2 separate regions of the Homo sapiens genome follow, and region 2 is linked to region 1. Evidence: promoter capture Hi-C in human tissues and cell types (Jung and others, 2019). All regions are on one chromosome and are shown on one strand. Each heading gives the region's core, a stretch centred on a gene start or on the middle of the fragment in contact. The rest is flanking DNA. Distances are from core to core; before and after follow the strand shown. Region 1 holds the start of GRTP1 (growth hormone regulated TBC protein 1). Region 2 overlaps CUL4A (cullin 4A).

Region 1 (7,262 bases), core at 2,833-5,332:
TTTTTCGGTGTATCTTTGAAAATATGTTTTCTCGATTTAACTTAGGTGGTGTTAATATTCTAAGCCACCAGGAAGGAGGTCTCAAAGAAGCCAACGGCCCTGAAGCTGCTTCCCTGCAGACGTCTATTCTCGAGATGGAGAATGAAATAGGAATCCAACAGGACTAAGTTTGTTGAATTTAGTCTTTCCAGGGAGGAAGAGGAAGCTGTCTTCCTAAGGGCTCCTGGTGGATATTTGCTATGGAAAAAGGAAAATACAATATTTATTGTACCCACCAAGAGTGTGATCAGGCAGAATACATAATAACTGTCCCTTAAGACATGTGGAATGCTGAGATTGGTAGATGATTGTGTTCCTGGAGACTTTAACATGGGGAGTGCAGATGAAAACCCTCCAAAAGGAGAGGAAAGAACTCTATCACTGTCAGCCTGGAATACCTGGCAGGAAGAAGTGGTATTCCCATTTTTGGAATAACTCGTCCACTCCAGTTTTATACCCGACCCTCTGCTCTTGGGGCTTTGCCAGTGCTCATGGGCACCCTGACGGTCACACTGGGACCCAGGCCCCAGGCCAGTAGAGACACGCGATCACTGACTCCATGTGCCTCCCACCGGAGTCACCAGCATCCCTACTCCCTGCAGAACAGGCCCACAGCCCTGTGGCTCCCACCCCTCAGGCTGAGGCTCATATAGGATCAAAGAGATATATTTGCTCACAGACCCATTTATGCCAGTGATGCTTGCTACCATAATTACATGGTCCACTTAACATTACATAAATTAGCCCAGCATGGTGGCTCACGCCTGTCATCCCAGCATTTTGGGAGGCTGAGGTGGGCGGATCACTGGAGCTCAGGAGTTCGAGACCAGCCTGGCCAACAAGGCAAAACCCATCTCTCCTAAAAACACAAAAATTAGCCGGGCATGGTGGCGAGTGCCTGTAATCCCAGTTACTCAGGAGGCTGAGGCAGGAGAATTGCTTGAACCTGGGAGGCAGAGGTTGCAGTGAGCCGAGATTGCGCCACTACCCTCCAGCCAGGCTGACAGAGCTAGACTTTGACTCAAAAAAAAAAAAAAAAAAAAAATTAAAGCAAAAAGAAGAAAGTTGTTACTTCAATAAAAACAAAATGAAATTTTTAGAAAGAGTTGATAGAGACCAATGCTAAAAAAAAAAAAAAAAAAAAGCAAAAACAAAACTGTTGACTTAGGTGTAAAATAATTGCAAAGGAGTGGGGAAAAGAATAAAAATCTGGAGGATTTTGCATCCGGATTGCTCTTTTCCTTTTCCCTGCTCTTCCCAGAACCCCCTCCCAAGTCCATATTGGAAAGTGGGGGCAATGTGCTGAGTGGTTCCCTAAAAAGGAAAATATGGAACCCAAGTTAGCAGCTCCTGGTCGAAGAAAAGGACAGCAATAGGACAGACCCAAATGGCAAAGGCAAAGACGGGAGAATGACTGTGCAGTTGTGTTTTCTGTAAAAACAAAAATTTATGCACAACCATACATCTTTCAGATTCTCCGCTGTAACCAACCTCCAGGTCACAGCCACAGGACTTCCCACGGACTTCCCCTGCTCTTAAAGCAAACTGCAGAACCAAGCGTGGACTTCTGCTCCTGAGGGGGACGGAAGGACAGTCCCCTGCGGTCATCTCTATAGGAGATGGGGGCCATGGGTGGGAGAGAAACTCCCTGTTGCACTTTGTAGCCCTCAGTATGATTAAAGTGTTTACCATGTACATAAATTATGCTTTTTAAGTTCACATGTCTTATATACTTTTACGTTACTTTTTAAAATTAAAAGACAGTTAACTTTTAAGAATAAATCAGGCGCAGTGGCTCATGCCTGTAATCCCAGCATTTTGGGAGGCCAACGTGGGCAGATCCCTTGAGGTCAGGAGTTTGAGACCAGCCTGGCCAATATGGTAAAACCCATCTCTACTAAAAAATAGAAAAATTAGCCTGGCGTGGTGGTAGGTGCCTGTAATCCCAGCTACTTGGGAGGCTGAGGCAGGAAAATCGCTTGAACCCAGGAGGCAGAGGTTGCAATGAGCTGAAATCATGCCACTGCACTCTAGCCTGGGCGACAGAGTGAGACTCCGTCTCAAAATAAAAAAAATAAGAAAATAAAAAATAAATTAGCCAGGTGTAGTGGTGTGCACCTGTAATCCCAGCTACTCAGGAGGCTGAGGCAGGAGAATCACTTGAACCCAGGAGGTGGAGGTTGCAGTCAGCTGAGATCGCACCACTGCACTCCAGCCTGGGCGACAGAGTGAGACTCTGTCTCAAAAATAAATAAATCAAAAAGAATAAATGAAAAGGAAAAATAAAGACACACGTTCCACTGGAAACATGTGAACATGCAGAGGCCACAGGGATGGGACATGATGCATTCGTGGGAAGCATATAGGATATTAACTTCCATCTCTATAAAAAATTTAAAAATTAGCCAGGAGTGGTGGCCACACCAGTGGTCCCAGCTATGCGGGAGGCTGAGAGGGGAGGATGGCTGGAGCCCAGGAGGTCAAGGCTACAGTGAGTGGTGATTGTGCCACTGCACTCAGAGGGATACCCTGTCTCAAATAAATAAATAAAAGCAAAAGTTGATCTTGTCACCCCCTGCCTGGAAAACCTTTAACAGTTGGCTTCTCTGTGCCTGGCCGTGGTCACCACACACCTCCGACCCTCCGCCCAGGTGCAGGGCCCCTGGTTTCATCTCTGTCCTTCCCCACCAGGTCCCTACTGCTCGGTCCCTGGAAGCCCAGCTGCCATTCACATCCCCCTTCTCAGGAAGCCCCCAGGACTCCCCTTTGACCCCACTTCTCTGAGTTCCTAGCTCCAGGGCACACTCCCACCAAGCCCTCACCCCAGGCAGACACTTCATTCATTCACTGAACACACAGGGAAGTCGCCTGGCACTGCCCCAGGTTCTGAGGACTGAGCAGTGAATGAAAAATCCGTTGCAGGGAGGAAGGGTTTTTGACTCCAGCAGGGGCTGTGCTGGGAAAGGCAGAAATGAGGAGGTGCCCTCCGCACAGGGAAGCCTGGGGCGCCCCGGAGGAGGGGGCCCTGCAGCTAACCCCGAGGCGGGCGGGCGGTCAGGCCGGTGCTCACCGCAGCAGTAGGAGGCCTGGGGTCGCGGAGGAGCGGCAGGTCGAGCAGGGCCCTGTGGGTCCCGTCACAAGGACGGAGTCTCGCTCTGTCGCCCAGGCTGGAGTGCAATGGCGCAATCTCGGCTCACTGCAACCTCCGCCTACTGGGTTCAAGCGATTCTCCTGCCTCAGCCTCCAGAGTAGCTGGGACTACAGGCAGGAGCCACCACGCCCGGCTAATTTTGTATTTTTAGTAGAGACGGGGTTTCACCATGTTGGTCAGGCTGGTCTCAAACTCCTGACCTCGTGATCCGCCCGCCTCGGCCTCCCAAAGCGCTGGGATTACAGGCGTGAGCCACCGCGCCCGGCATGGATCGAGTTTTGATCCATCCCGATATGGCTCCCTGCTGGGAGGGACGGGTCTCCTTCGCGTCCGACCCGCCGGCCCATCTCAAAGCGGGAAAACCGGTCCCTGCGGCTGCCCTAGCTCGGAGCCCGCAGCTTCGTCCCGACCTGCCCGGAAAGGTTCCTCCCCCTCCCTCCGCTCCGGGAGCCCGGACTTTGCCCGGCCCGTCCCAGCCCAACCCACCTGCGCCCTCGGGACCCACCTGCGCCCCCGGGACCCACCTGTCCGGCTCCTGGGGACGCCCCCGCCCTGCAGCAGCCGGGACCATTTGATCGCCCTGCGGGTGAGCGTGACCAGGTAGCTGGAGAAAAACTTCTCGTAGGCGGCGTCGTCGAAGTCCTCAGGCCGCTCGAATCCGTACGGGTCGATCCTGCAAAACCGAGAGAAGGAGGCCGGCGTCCCCGAAGTTTCCTCTGGGGGGTCGCGGGCCCGCGCGGGGACCGCAGCCGCCGGGGACGCCCGCACCCCGCGCCACACACCTGGGGACCCGCGAGCGCTCGGCGGGCTGCATGCGGGGAGGGAGGCGCGCACCGAGCGAGGCCAGCGGGTCCCAAGTTCGCCTCCCGGCTCCGGGGCGCTTAAGTCCTTCCGGCGGGACCGCGGGCGCGTGGGGGCGGGGCGGGGAGCGGAGAGGGGCGGGGCTGGAGGCGGGGGCGGGGGGGGGCAGGGCGGGGGGAGGGGCGGCTGGGGGCGGGGAGGACTTGGGGAGAGAGGAGGGGCAGGAGCGGGGGAGGGGCAGGGGAGCACCCAGGGCGGGGGAGGGGCGGGGCTGGGGGCGGGAGGACCTGGGGAGAGAGGAGGGGCAGGAGCGGGTGAGGGGCGGGGGAGGGCCGGGGGAGGGGCAGGGGAGCACCCAGGGCGGGGGAGGGGCGGGGCTGGGGGGGCGGGAGGACTTGGGGAGAGAGGAGGGTGGGGGCGGGGCGGGGCCTGCTCCCGGGGCTTCCGAGGCCGCGGCGTCCCGCGGGCAGAATCGGGGGCGCCTCCCGCAGAACCCCCGCGGCCTGGACCCGGGTGAGAGGAGCTTCTTCTGCGATTCCTTCAAACCTCAGTGCCTGGCCGACCCGACTCTGACACCTGACTCCTATTTTTATTTTATTTTTTATTTTCTCCGCTGCATTTCAAGGCCGAGACCAACACACAAATGAGAAGCCCCCAGGGGCGCCCGCCCGTTCCTGCCCCCCCAAACCAGGGACCGGGGTCCCCCCACCGGCGAGCCAGGCCTGGGAGAATCCGGGGCAGCTCTGGTTCCGAACGGCTTCTTCTCGGTCCGCATCCAATGACATTGTCCTGAGATTTCAGCTGCTTTTCGTGTCCGGGAGGCCCCGGAAATTTGCCAGAACTGCAGATTTTGAATTTTGCTCTGGCGACGTGGCAAAGGGGAGCCCCCAGACGTGAGGCGCTGGGGCGACCTCGCCCTGGGTCCCCCAGGGGTCTGGAGCGGGGGCTCCTCCGACAGGCCTCTCCCCGCCTGTAATTTAGGCCCAGGGCGACCTGGACAGGCCCCAGGAGGAGGCCGTCCCCGGACTCCAGACGCACTTTCCTGTGAGAAGCAGCCCGGCCTCGTCTGGGTGAGGCGAGGATCACAGGCTCAGCGTCCCCTGCGCGTCCGTCAGGGCCTTTCGGAACCAACTTGGGACCTTCCCATGGGTGTTTCCGGAATGTTCCATGCGAGCGCCACCCAGGAGCCTGGTCAGCAGCGTGTGGAACGGACCGGTCCCTAAGTGCGGACTCCCGCCTCTGCCTTTCACCCTTCTCCAGCCCTTGCAAGACCGGGGGGCGGGGTGGGGGTCAGTGCCCAGCGGAGCAGAGCCCCCGACACGGTTCCTCCCGTTCCTAGTCTGCTGGTTCTGGGAACTCCCCAAGCTTTCAGCCCAGCTCCTCAGCACTGGCCTTTGGTAACACGCGGCGTCCCTCATTTGAAAGATCACACAGCCCCCACTCTACGGTCTGACCTCCTTGGGATGTTTAGACCCAAGCCAGGAGACAGGGCCATAGCCTCCTGCCCCTCGGCCTACGGGTGCCCCACAGTCCAGGACTGACAGGTGGGCGTCCGTCCCCAGGGTCTTCGAACCCCGTCTGGGCTCCTCTCTGCCTAAGTCAGTGACTCCCTGAACCCCTCTCGGGCTCTAACTGACGCCCGAATTTCCTATATCGCATCCCTCGCGCTTTCTGGAGCAACAGACACAGTCCTGCTCCCCACTTCCCAGCACCCGGGGTCCTGCGCCCAAATCGCCCCACACCGCGCAGCTTCTGTTCCAACCCCAGGCCTGGAAGCCTCACGGCTCCCCTTTTCCCTAATTCCTGCCTTCTGGCCATGGAGATGGGGTTCTAACCTCCCTTTCCCACCACTGCCGTGGAAAGCAGCGTGGCAGGCAGCACGGACCAGGGGCCGCCAGCTCCCGAGCCTGAGTGTGATGGCGGGACTGCCACCAAGTGTATTTTTGGGCCAGATGTAGGGAGACTGTGGGGGAGCAGGTCAGATAAGAGCGGTGCCCTCCAGGAAGAGTGGAGAGGAGAGATACAGAGAGGCCAGAGCCCCAGGCTCTGTGCAGGGTGGGCAGCCAGACCGAGGCAGCTAGAAAGGTCTCCCGCTCCAGCCCAGGCCTGGCCAAGCCCCAACCTGGGACCTGACTGGGAGACAGCAGCTCCTATCTGGAACAGCTCCCACCTGGGACAGCTCCCACCTGGGACTGTGTCCCTCAGGTGCCTCCATTCACCGCCCCCCCGACCCCAGTGCCAAGCACCCAGCAGGCACCCGAGCATCCTCACACAAACTCCCTTTCTGTGAAGCCACCAGCACAGTCAGCCATGATGCAAAAGCCAGGTGCACACCCACCCCAGGAGTGACTGTGCTGGCCACAGCCGCTCCAGACAGCCCTTTCCGGGGGAGGCTTTGCAGTGCTGGAGCTCTGGGTCAGCTTGCCCTGCAGTTCAGGGACTCAGAATTCACCCTCCCCCGGGGGACCCAGCTCCCTTGCAGGAGGCCCTCTTCAGTCTGAGGGGCCTCAGGGGCCACACCAGGGGGCCTCTGTGGGGTCACCACCCATGATGCCCCTCCTCCCTTCAGGAATTCAGCCGTCTTGTTGCTTTTTTTTTTTTTTTTTTTTGAGTCGGAGTTTCACTCTTGTTGCCCAGGCTGGAGTGCAATAGCTCAATCTCGGCTCACTGCAACCTCCGCCTCCTGGGTTCAAGCGATTCTCCTGCCTCAGCATCCCAAGTAGCTGGGATTACAGGCATGCGCCACTACGCCCAACTAATTTTGTATTTTTAGTAGAGACGGGGGTTTCTCCATGTTGGCCAGGCTGTTTTCGAACTCCCGACCTCAGGTGATCCGCCCACCTTGGCCTCCCAAAGTGCTGGGATTACAGGCGCGAGCCACTGTGCCTGGCCCTTGTTGCTTTTTTTGTAGAAGCTGCTGCCCTTTGGAAGTTAGAAGGGCTTCAGGAGTACTTCAGTTCTGGGGTGCCCATCAAGATAGAAGGAACGTCTAGCATCCCCAAGGCCGGGAGGACCTGAGAAAATGGGATGTGAGTACAGAGGACAAAGATAACGGCAGCAGAACCCACCGAGCAGTGATGAACCATGACGTGGGCATCTTCGTGGAGCCACAGCATGTGCCAAACCCCACGGAGCTCCAGGCTGTCCTGGAGGCTGAAGCCAGTCAATTGACCACATGCTGCCTGGTTACAGGAGACGGGCAACTGGGAGTGGGGAGGGTCACCCAAATCTCACTGCAGGAAATTCCAGTGCAGTGCGACTCTAGCCCTGA
Region 2 (7,262 bases), core at 3,487-5,986, 140 kb before region 1:
GACTGGGCAGCAAAACCACAGGGTGGAATGGCAGCATCCTGCCAGCAAACCTCTTATGGTTAGAGGGAAAGGATCTGACTGCTGTGGAAGGATGAACCAGACACGGATTGAGGCGGGGAGGGTCTGTCGTGGTCACGTTGATTTGGAAGGAGGAGACACGGATTGAGGCGGGGAGGGTCTGTCGTGGTCATGTTGATTTGGAAGGAGGTGAGGAGGCACTCAGGTAGAGATGCCTGTTGTGCATTTGGGGCTGGAGACACAGATCCAGTGGCTCCAGACATGGATGAGATGCCCAGGAAAAATGAGCAGAGTGGCCAGACACAGTGGCTCACGCCTCTAACCTTAGCACTGCATTTTGGGAGGCCAAGTTGGGAGGGCCAGTTGAGCCCAAGAGTTCAAGAGCAGCCTAGACGACAATTAGCCGGGTGTGTGGTTCACACCTGTGGTCCCAGCTACTCTGGAGGCTGAGGTGGGAGGATTGCACGAGCCCAGGAGGCCGAGGCTGCAGTGAGCTGAGATTGCGCCACTGCACTCCAGCCTGAGCAGCAGAGCAAGACCCCCATCTCTAAAAAGAAAATGAGCAGAGCCATGAGAGGAGGTGGATGAGGGCTGCTGTCAGGAAGATGAGAGGAGAACCTGGAGAGTCATCTTGTGGGAATCGAGGGGCGAGTTTAATATGGCAGGCGGCTTAGTGACCAGTAAGTAGAGTCTGAGGGGATGATGAGACCAGGAAGTGGCTGGTTACTGTGATGAAGGCTTTTAGGCTACATTCGTACGTTAACCTAGTAAACATGGGGTGTTTCTGTCCAACTCAGCACTGTGCGTTGGGGACCAGGGACAGGCATGAATGGCACGGGTCCTGCTCTCAAAAAGCTTGTTTTTGCTGGAAGAGAGTTCTGACCCAGCCCAGTCTCACCTGGGGAAATGTTAATGTGATGGCAGATGCTGAGATACTGTGTGGCAGGGAGTATTCCAAGGTCTGCATATTCAGATTTCTTTTGCCTCTGGGATATTCCAGTACTTCAAGTAACTCTACTTTCTAAGATTTAAGTAATTTGTTGTTGTTGTTGTTGTTTTGAGACGGAGTTTCGCTCTTAATTGCCCAGGCTAGTGTGCAATGGCGCAATCTTGGCTCACCGCAACAACCTCCACTCCTGGGTTCAAGCGATTCTCTTGTCTCAGCCTCCCGAGTAGCTGGGATTACAGGAATGCGCCACCACGCCTGGCTAATTTTGTATTTTTAGTAGAAACGGGGTTTCTCCACATTGGTCAGGCTGGTCTCGAATTTGCGATCTTGGATTATCTGCCTGCTTCGACCTCCCAAAGTGTTGGGATTACAGGCGTGAGCCACCATGCCCGGCCAGATTTAAGTAATGTTATGTACCGATTATATTTTGATTGTATGCTGATATTAGATTATAGATGAAACCCATCAGATGTGCAGGTAGAAAAAGGGCTTTTGTGGAATTGAGTCATTCACTACCATCTTCTTCGTTTACCACATCCGTTTTCTTGTCTCACATGTTTGATAAATTCTGCACTTAGCTGTCCGTTTCAAAATAGATAGCTGCTCTTGGTGACGTCCCTTCCTCAAAATAAAGGCCATTTGTACCCTTGCACTCATACACATGCTCAGCCACAGGCAGCTGCTGCAGAACCCACACCACATGCTGCAGGACCACGTGCCACCCAGCCAAGCTACGTGGGCAACAGGAGCTCTTCAAAAATGTCAAGCCCGCAGAGTGCGGTGGCTCACGCCTGTAATCCCAGTACTTTGGGAGGCCAAGGTGGGCGGATCATGAGGTCAGGAGATCGAGACCATCCTGGCTAACACGGTGAAACCCCGTCTCTACTGAAAATACAAAAAAATTAGCCGGGCGTGGTGGCGGGCACCTGTAGTCCCAGCTACTCGGGAGGCTGAGGCAGGAGAATGGCATGAACCCGGGAGGCAGATCTTGCAGTGAGCCGAGATCGCACCACTGCACTCCAGCCTGGGTGACAGAGCGAGACTCCATCTCAAAAAAAAAAAAATGTCAAGCCAACTGTCCTCAGAATCTAACCTGTAGATAACTATAGATGAAACTCACATTTTCCTTCCCCTGGTTCACCTTGACAGCATTGCAGCTCTGGTCAGCCACAGAATGCCAGGCAGTGGTGGACACCATGATAGCCGTGTGGTCAGAAGGGAAGGGCACGGGAGTGAGCTGGGAACCTTGGCTGTTGGGGAAGTTGCAAAGCTCCAGTTTCCTCTAAGTGTGCCTTTATGATCCGCACTGGCGACAGCAGGCTTTGTCTTTCCTTAGAAAGACTTTGTGCCTGTTCTCACTTGACCAGATATCGTGTACGGAGCACTTGCTGGCAGTAGGCCAAGCTCTGCACATTCATGAATTGCTTTGTCTCACAACACCCTGAGCCGTAGGTATCTTTATTGACCATATTTTCCAGATGAAGAGACGAAAGCCCAAGAGAACCCTGTTAATGCTCGGCCAGATCAGAGGAGACAAAACAAGCACCCCTGCCTTCATGGGTTGTGTGGATGAATGAGGGTCGGCCTAGGGCTGTCCCCTCGCGGTCTGTCCGGTCTGTCGGTACAGGCAGCAGATGGGCCACTTGTTCCTGGAATTGCAGAAGCAGATAACCAAGTGTAGAAAATGTATGTATCCCTCTTCTACCCCAACAGAAGCACCGTCTTTTTGCTTTTTCTTTTTTTTTTTAGTTACAGATATGATAGGTAGGTTTTTTTCTATGGTGTAAGCATTTCTGCTGTTGGATTTTGTTTGCTGTTTGAAGACCTGCCTAACTCGTCTCAGTAGGCTGTATAAATCGTTTAATGAAGATTGGCCCTTTTCTGAAGTGAGAAAAAGGATGGTTGCTGAAGAACCTATCTCGAGAATACACTATTGACAGACTCACGGTGTCTGTGTGTCTCACATCCTGGAATTACTTGCACACCATTGTGGCTATGTGTTATATCCCAGAATATGGAATTGATTTTGATGTTTAGAAGGCCAAAGCTTACTTAGTAAATGCCACACTGATTTTAGCTTACCATTTTGTAGTTTTTTTCTGTGGGAAATAACAAAAAAATTATTGATTGAGGATCTATATTGATTTTACAGAGCTATTTTAGAGGAAGTATTTCTCATTTAATGAACACTTTACATTGGACTTTCCATCTTAACAAGACACTGCCCCAGGTGGAACTCTGTCTTCACAACACCTGAGCTGCCCAGTGGTGTCAGATTGACTGGTGTCAGTTTAACCCCGTTAAGTTTAAAGGATCTGTGCACCCTCATCTGGAAGCAAAGCTCCGCCTTCGGCTGCTGTGGCCCGCCTGCCCGCAGAGAGGCTTGCTGGGAGGTCCAGGCCGCAGTTCCCGTCCAGCTCCTGGAGTCAGAGCTGCAGGATGGCTGTTGGGGGTCCTTGAAGCCTGTCCAGATGCACTTGGGATGGGTTTTTTTGTTTTGTCCAGACTGTTTCTGTAGATTCCTAATATAATGAGCCATTATAATTTTGAACAATTTGTAAAGAGTACTTCCAGAGGAACCTGTTAACCATTCAACCATTAGGTCTTTGCTGTAAGTGTCTGTTTTTAATTTTCTGGCAGTGCTTCTGAGAATTCTGCAAAGCCTCAAGAAAAAATAGAGTAAGCTGTCTTAGCCAGGCCCCTGTAGCTTTGGTCACAGCACTTCCTGGTGTGACAAGGACTCAGACCCCCCGGGAGCCCCTTGGCTATCCTCAGCACTGTTTATTCCTCCTCAGGCTCTGCCTGGCACCCTACCCTCCCTGGCACTCTTTCTTTGTCAGGCCACTCGTTGCCACCCTGAGACTCCAGCTCATGTCTGATTTGTGCATCCTACTTAACTGATGTGTTTTTCCTCCTCTCTGTGTGTGAGGATGTTGTCACCACCTCACATTGGCTCTTGAGTGTGAAGTGTCTTGCTGCACGGCAGAAACAGACCTAGAGAAGTCCCTTGGTTTGGCCAGTATTGTGTTGCTGACAGGCGGTGGATCAAGAGTTAAAATGTAGGAAGTCCATGTTCTGTCCCCTTTGACAAGCCATTTTCTTAATCTGTACAAAGGGAACAATGTCTGCACCACGAGGTTGGGGAGATTTTCAGTGAGAGTGGATGTGAAGAGTGTTTCGTAAACCATAAAGCAGTTTATTGTCATTGATGATTCTCAGCTTTGCATGAACCTGAGGGACACCAGACCACTTGCTCTAGGAGCCCATATTCTGGGTTCTTTGTCCTAAACTACTTTTTGGGCCTTTTCCTAAAAATACACATTCTAAGAGTCAAGGTAAGAGTGTTCCTAATTTGGTGCATGGATGAGAGTTCATGTTAGTTTTCATTGAGGCTGGAAGTTAAACCTGAGCCATTTTCCTGTCCAGCTGCACTTTGCCACAGGCTGGGCACACTGGCTCATACCTGTAATCCTAGCACTTTGGGAGACTGAGGAGGATTACTTAAGACCACGTGTTCAAGACCAGCCTAGGAGTATAGTGAGGTGCCATCTCTTTTAATTTTTAAAAAATAGTCCTAGTGACTCTTACCAGGCCAGTCACCATCTCCAGGAGCCCCCCTGTGGGAGTATGTTCAGTGTCTGCCCTTTGTGAAGTGGGGCCTTTTGTCCCGCCACCTACCCCCAGGGCACTTAAGGCCTGGGTGTGTTTCTGCCGGCAGGGACTTGAAGGTGTCTGGCAGTGAAGGAAGGAGAGGATGAAGGGAGGCTGGAGAGGGAGTGGCGAGCGGCCAGAGGCAGGCGGGGCCGTGGGAAGGGAAAGCAGCACAGGCAAGCTGAGTGCACATTGGTGATGAGATACAGAGATCCATGATTGAACTTCTAGTGTATCTTAGCCCACTGGGGCTGCCATGACAAAACACCATAGAGTGTGGCTCATCAACAGCAGGAGTCTGTTGCTCACAGCTCTGGAGGCTGGAGGTCCAGGGTCAAGGCACTGGCAGATTGCATGTCTGGTGGGGCCCCGCTTCCTGGTCCATAGCCAGCACCTTCTCACTGCATCCTTATGTGGTGGAAGAGGCAGGGGAGCTCTCTGGGGTCTCTTTTGTAACCCCATTCTTGAGGCTTGTCCACTCTCATGACCTAATCACCTCCCAGAGGCCCTGCCTCCTAACACCATTACCGTAGAGTGAGAGCTTCAGCCTATGAATTTTGGGGGGACATGAACATTCAAGACTAATATTCTTTCAGTATTCCAGTTACTGAATGGTGTGTAGTATTCAGTGGAGAAGGTAGCTGAAATTAAGGGGTTAAAATTGTAATAATGGCCGGTTGCGGTGGCTCACGCCTGTAATCCCGGCACTTTGGGAGGCTGAGGCCAGTGGATCACAAGGTCAGGAGTTCGAGATCAGCCTGACCAACATGGTGAAACCCCGTCTCTACTAAAAATACAAAAAATTAGCTGGGCGTGGTGGCACACGCCTGTAATCCCAGCTACTCAAGAGGCTGAGGCAGGAGAATCGCTTGAACCTGGGAGGCAGAGGCTGCACTGCTGAGCTAAGATCGTGCCACTGCACTCCAGCCTGGGCGACAGAGCGAGACTCCATCTCAAAAAAAAAAAAAAAGGTAATAATTAAATTGGCCAGCATTTTTAAAGTTTTCCTTAGCAGATCTGTACAGACTCACTAGATAGTGTTTTATTTTTAAAGAAGATTAACACGTGCTGGCAGGACCACTGCAGACAAATGGTAAGCTTGTTCACTTTTTCATCAAAACACGACCTCATCCATCTTCCCTCACCCACATGATTGAGAGCTGAGACATAGAAGTTCTGTTGAGGATTCTGTCTGTGTTCAGTGCTGTGGTTGAACAGCACGATGAGAAAAGCAGGGAAGGTGAACTCCTCAGCTCCTGTGAGAGGGCACCACTGACCCTCTTGGCCTTCAGGTCCACAGTCACAGTCCGCAGTGGTGACAGGGTTCTTAGATGCCTGCATGGGTCTCTAAATGTCTCTTTAAGCACAGTTTACTCCTCAGAATCTAGCCTGAATCCCAGGTCTTTCCTGCAGCTGCACAACCAGCGTCTTAGGCTTTGTAGATGTCTTGGCTTTGACTTGACGTCATGTATACATTTTTAGTGTGACCTGGCCGTTAATTACTTAAGTGAGAGAACAGACCGTATTAATAGCTTTCCTAAGTAGGTTGAAATCTTCCGTTTTCTAAATGATATCAGTAGGAGACGATGGGTGTATTTCTTTTCTGGGCCAGGTAGCTGGCAGCTGCTAGAGCTCGCTGAGGGTCTGTTGGGAAGGGTTTGGTGAGATGCGTTCACAAGTCTCCCCAGCCAGGTAGTGGGCTCGATGGTAGGAGCACAGGACAGGACCAGGGATCATCCTGCATCCCTCACTCTGCTCGCAACGCAGAGTCAGAGACACACGTCCAAGAGCCTCATCATGTAACAGGAACTCAGGTTTTAAAAGCTAAGTGCATCTCCCTAATCTAGTAAGAAGTAGCACATCAGTCAAAAAAATGACCAAATTTAGGCCGGGCGCGGTGGCTCACGCCTGTAATCCCAGCTCTTTGGGAGGCCGAGGCGGGCGGATCACGAGGTCAGGAGATCGAGACCATCCTGGCTAACACGGTGAAACCACGTCTCTACTGAAAATACAAAAAAAAAAAAAATTAACCGGGTGGGGTGGTGGGCGCCTGTAGTCCCAGCTACTCGGGAGGCTGAGGCAGGAGAATGGTGTGAACCCAGGAGGCGGAGCTTGCACATCACGCCACCGCACTCCAGCCTGGGCGACAGAGCGAGACTCCGTCTCAAGACAAAAAAAAGAAAAATGACCAAATTTAAAAGATATCCTTTAGGCCTTGGCTGAACACAGGATCTCTTTAAAAAGAAAAAAAAGATACCATTTTAGGCTAAGTGCGTTAAAATTCCTACAGTCAGATTTACAATATTAAAGAGATGGAAATCACATACCAAGGGGACAAAATTAACTTTAGAAAAAAAAAATAAAACATGAGGGCTGTGGTGGACAGGAAACAGCTGTTGGATTTGAGACAGCTAGCATGGAGTTAAAAGGCCTGATCTTTCATATTTTGCTAGTAGAATTCATAAGTAAATGGTTCTCCTTTCTGCTGGTCAGATCATGATCAGAAGCATCTTCCTGTTCTTGGACCGCACCTATGTGCTGCAGAACTCCACGCTGCCCTCCATCTGGTGAGTGTCCTCACAGCGCAGAGCTGCGTCTTCCCTGCAGCTGATGCTTTTCGTCCCGTTTGTGTCTTCCGCAGGCT

The links. Contacts are between HindIII fragments. The study calls those that stand out against the background at their distance.
Region 2: a contact is called between a fragment that was not itself captured here and the fragment with the promoter of GRTP1 in region 1, in 1 of the 25 tissues and cell types used here (aorta).

Annotation. Positions count from the first base shown.
Region 1 is chr13:113,360,048-113,367,309 of GRCh38, forward strand. GRTP1 (growth hormone regulated TBC protein 1) reads right to left here and starts at 4,083. Exons shown (of 8, transcript NM_024719.4): 1 at 3,973-4,083; 2 at 3,715-3,863. The coding sequence starts at 4,004. GRTP1-AS1 (GRTP1 antisense RNA 1) reads left to right here. Exons shown (of 2, transcript NR_120385.1): 2 at 1,512-1,821. RefSeq lists a silencer at 3,667-3,961 and enhancers at 4,949-5,642, 5,643-6,336, 7,031-7,262. The HindIII fragment of the contact is 3,925 bases long and covers 2,547-6,471 here.
Region 2 is chr13:113,222,335-113,229,596 of GRCh38, forward strand. It overlaps CUL4A (cullin 4A), which reads left to right. Exons shown (of 20, transcript NM_001008895.4): 4 at 5,642-5,711; 5 at 7,112-7,185. Among named protein-coding and RNA genes, the nearest start is that of CUL4A, 16 kb to the left of the region's middle. RefSeq lists an enhancer at 59-908. The HindIII fragment of the contact is 5,587 bases long and covers 1,944-7,262 here.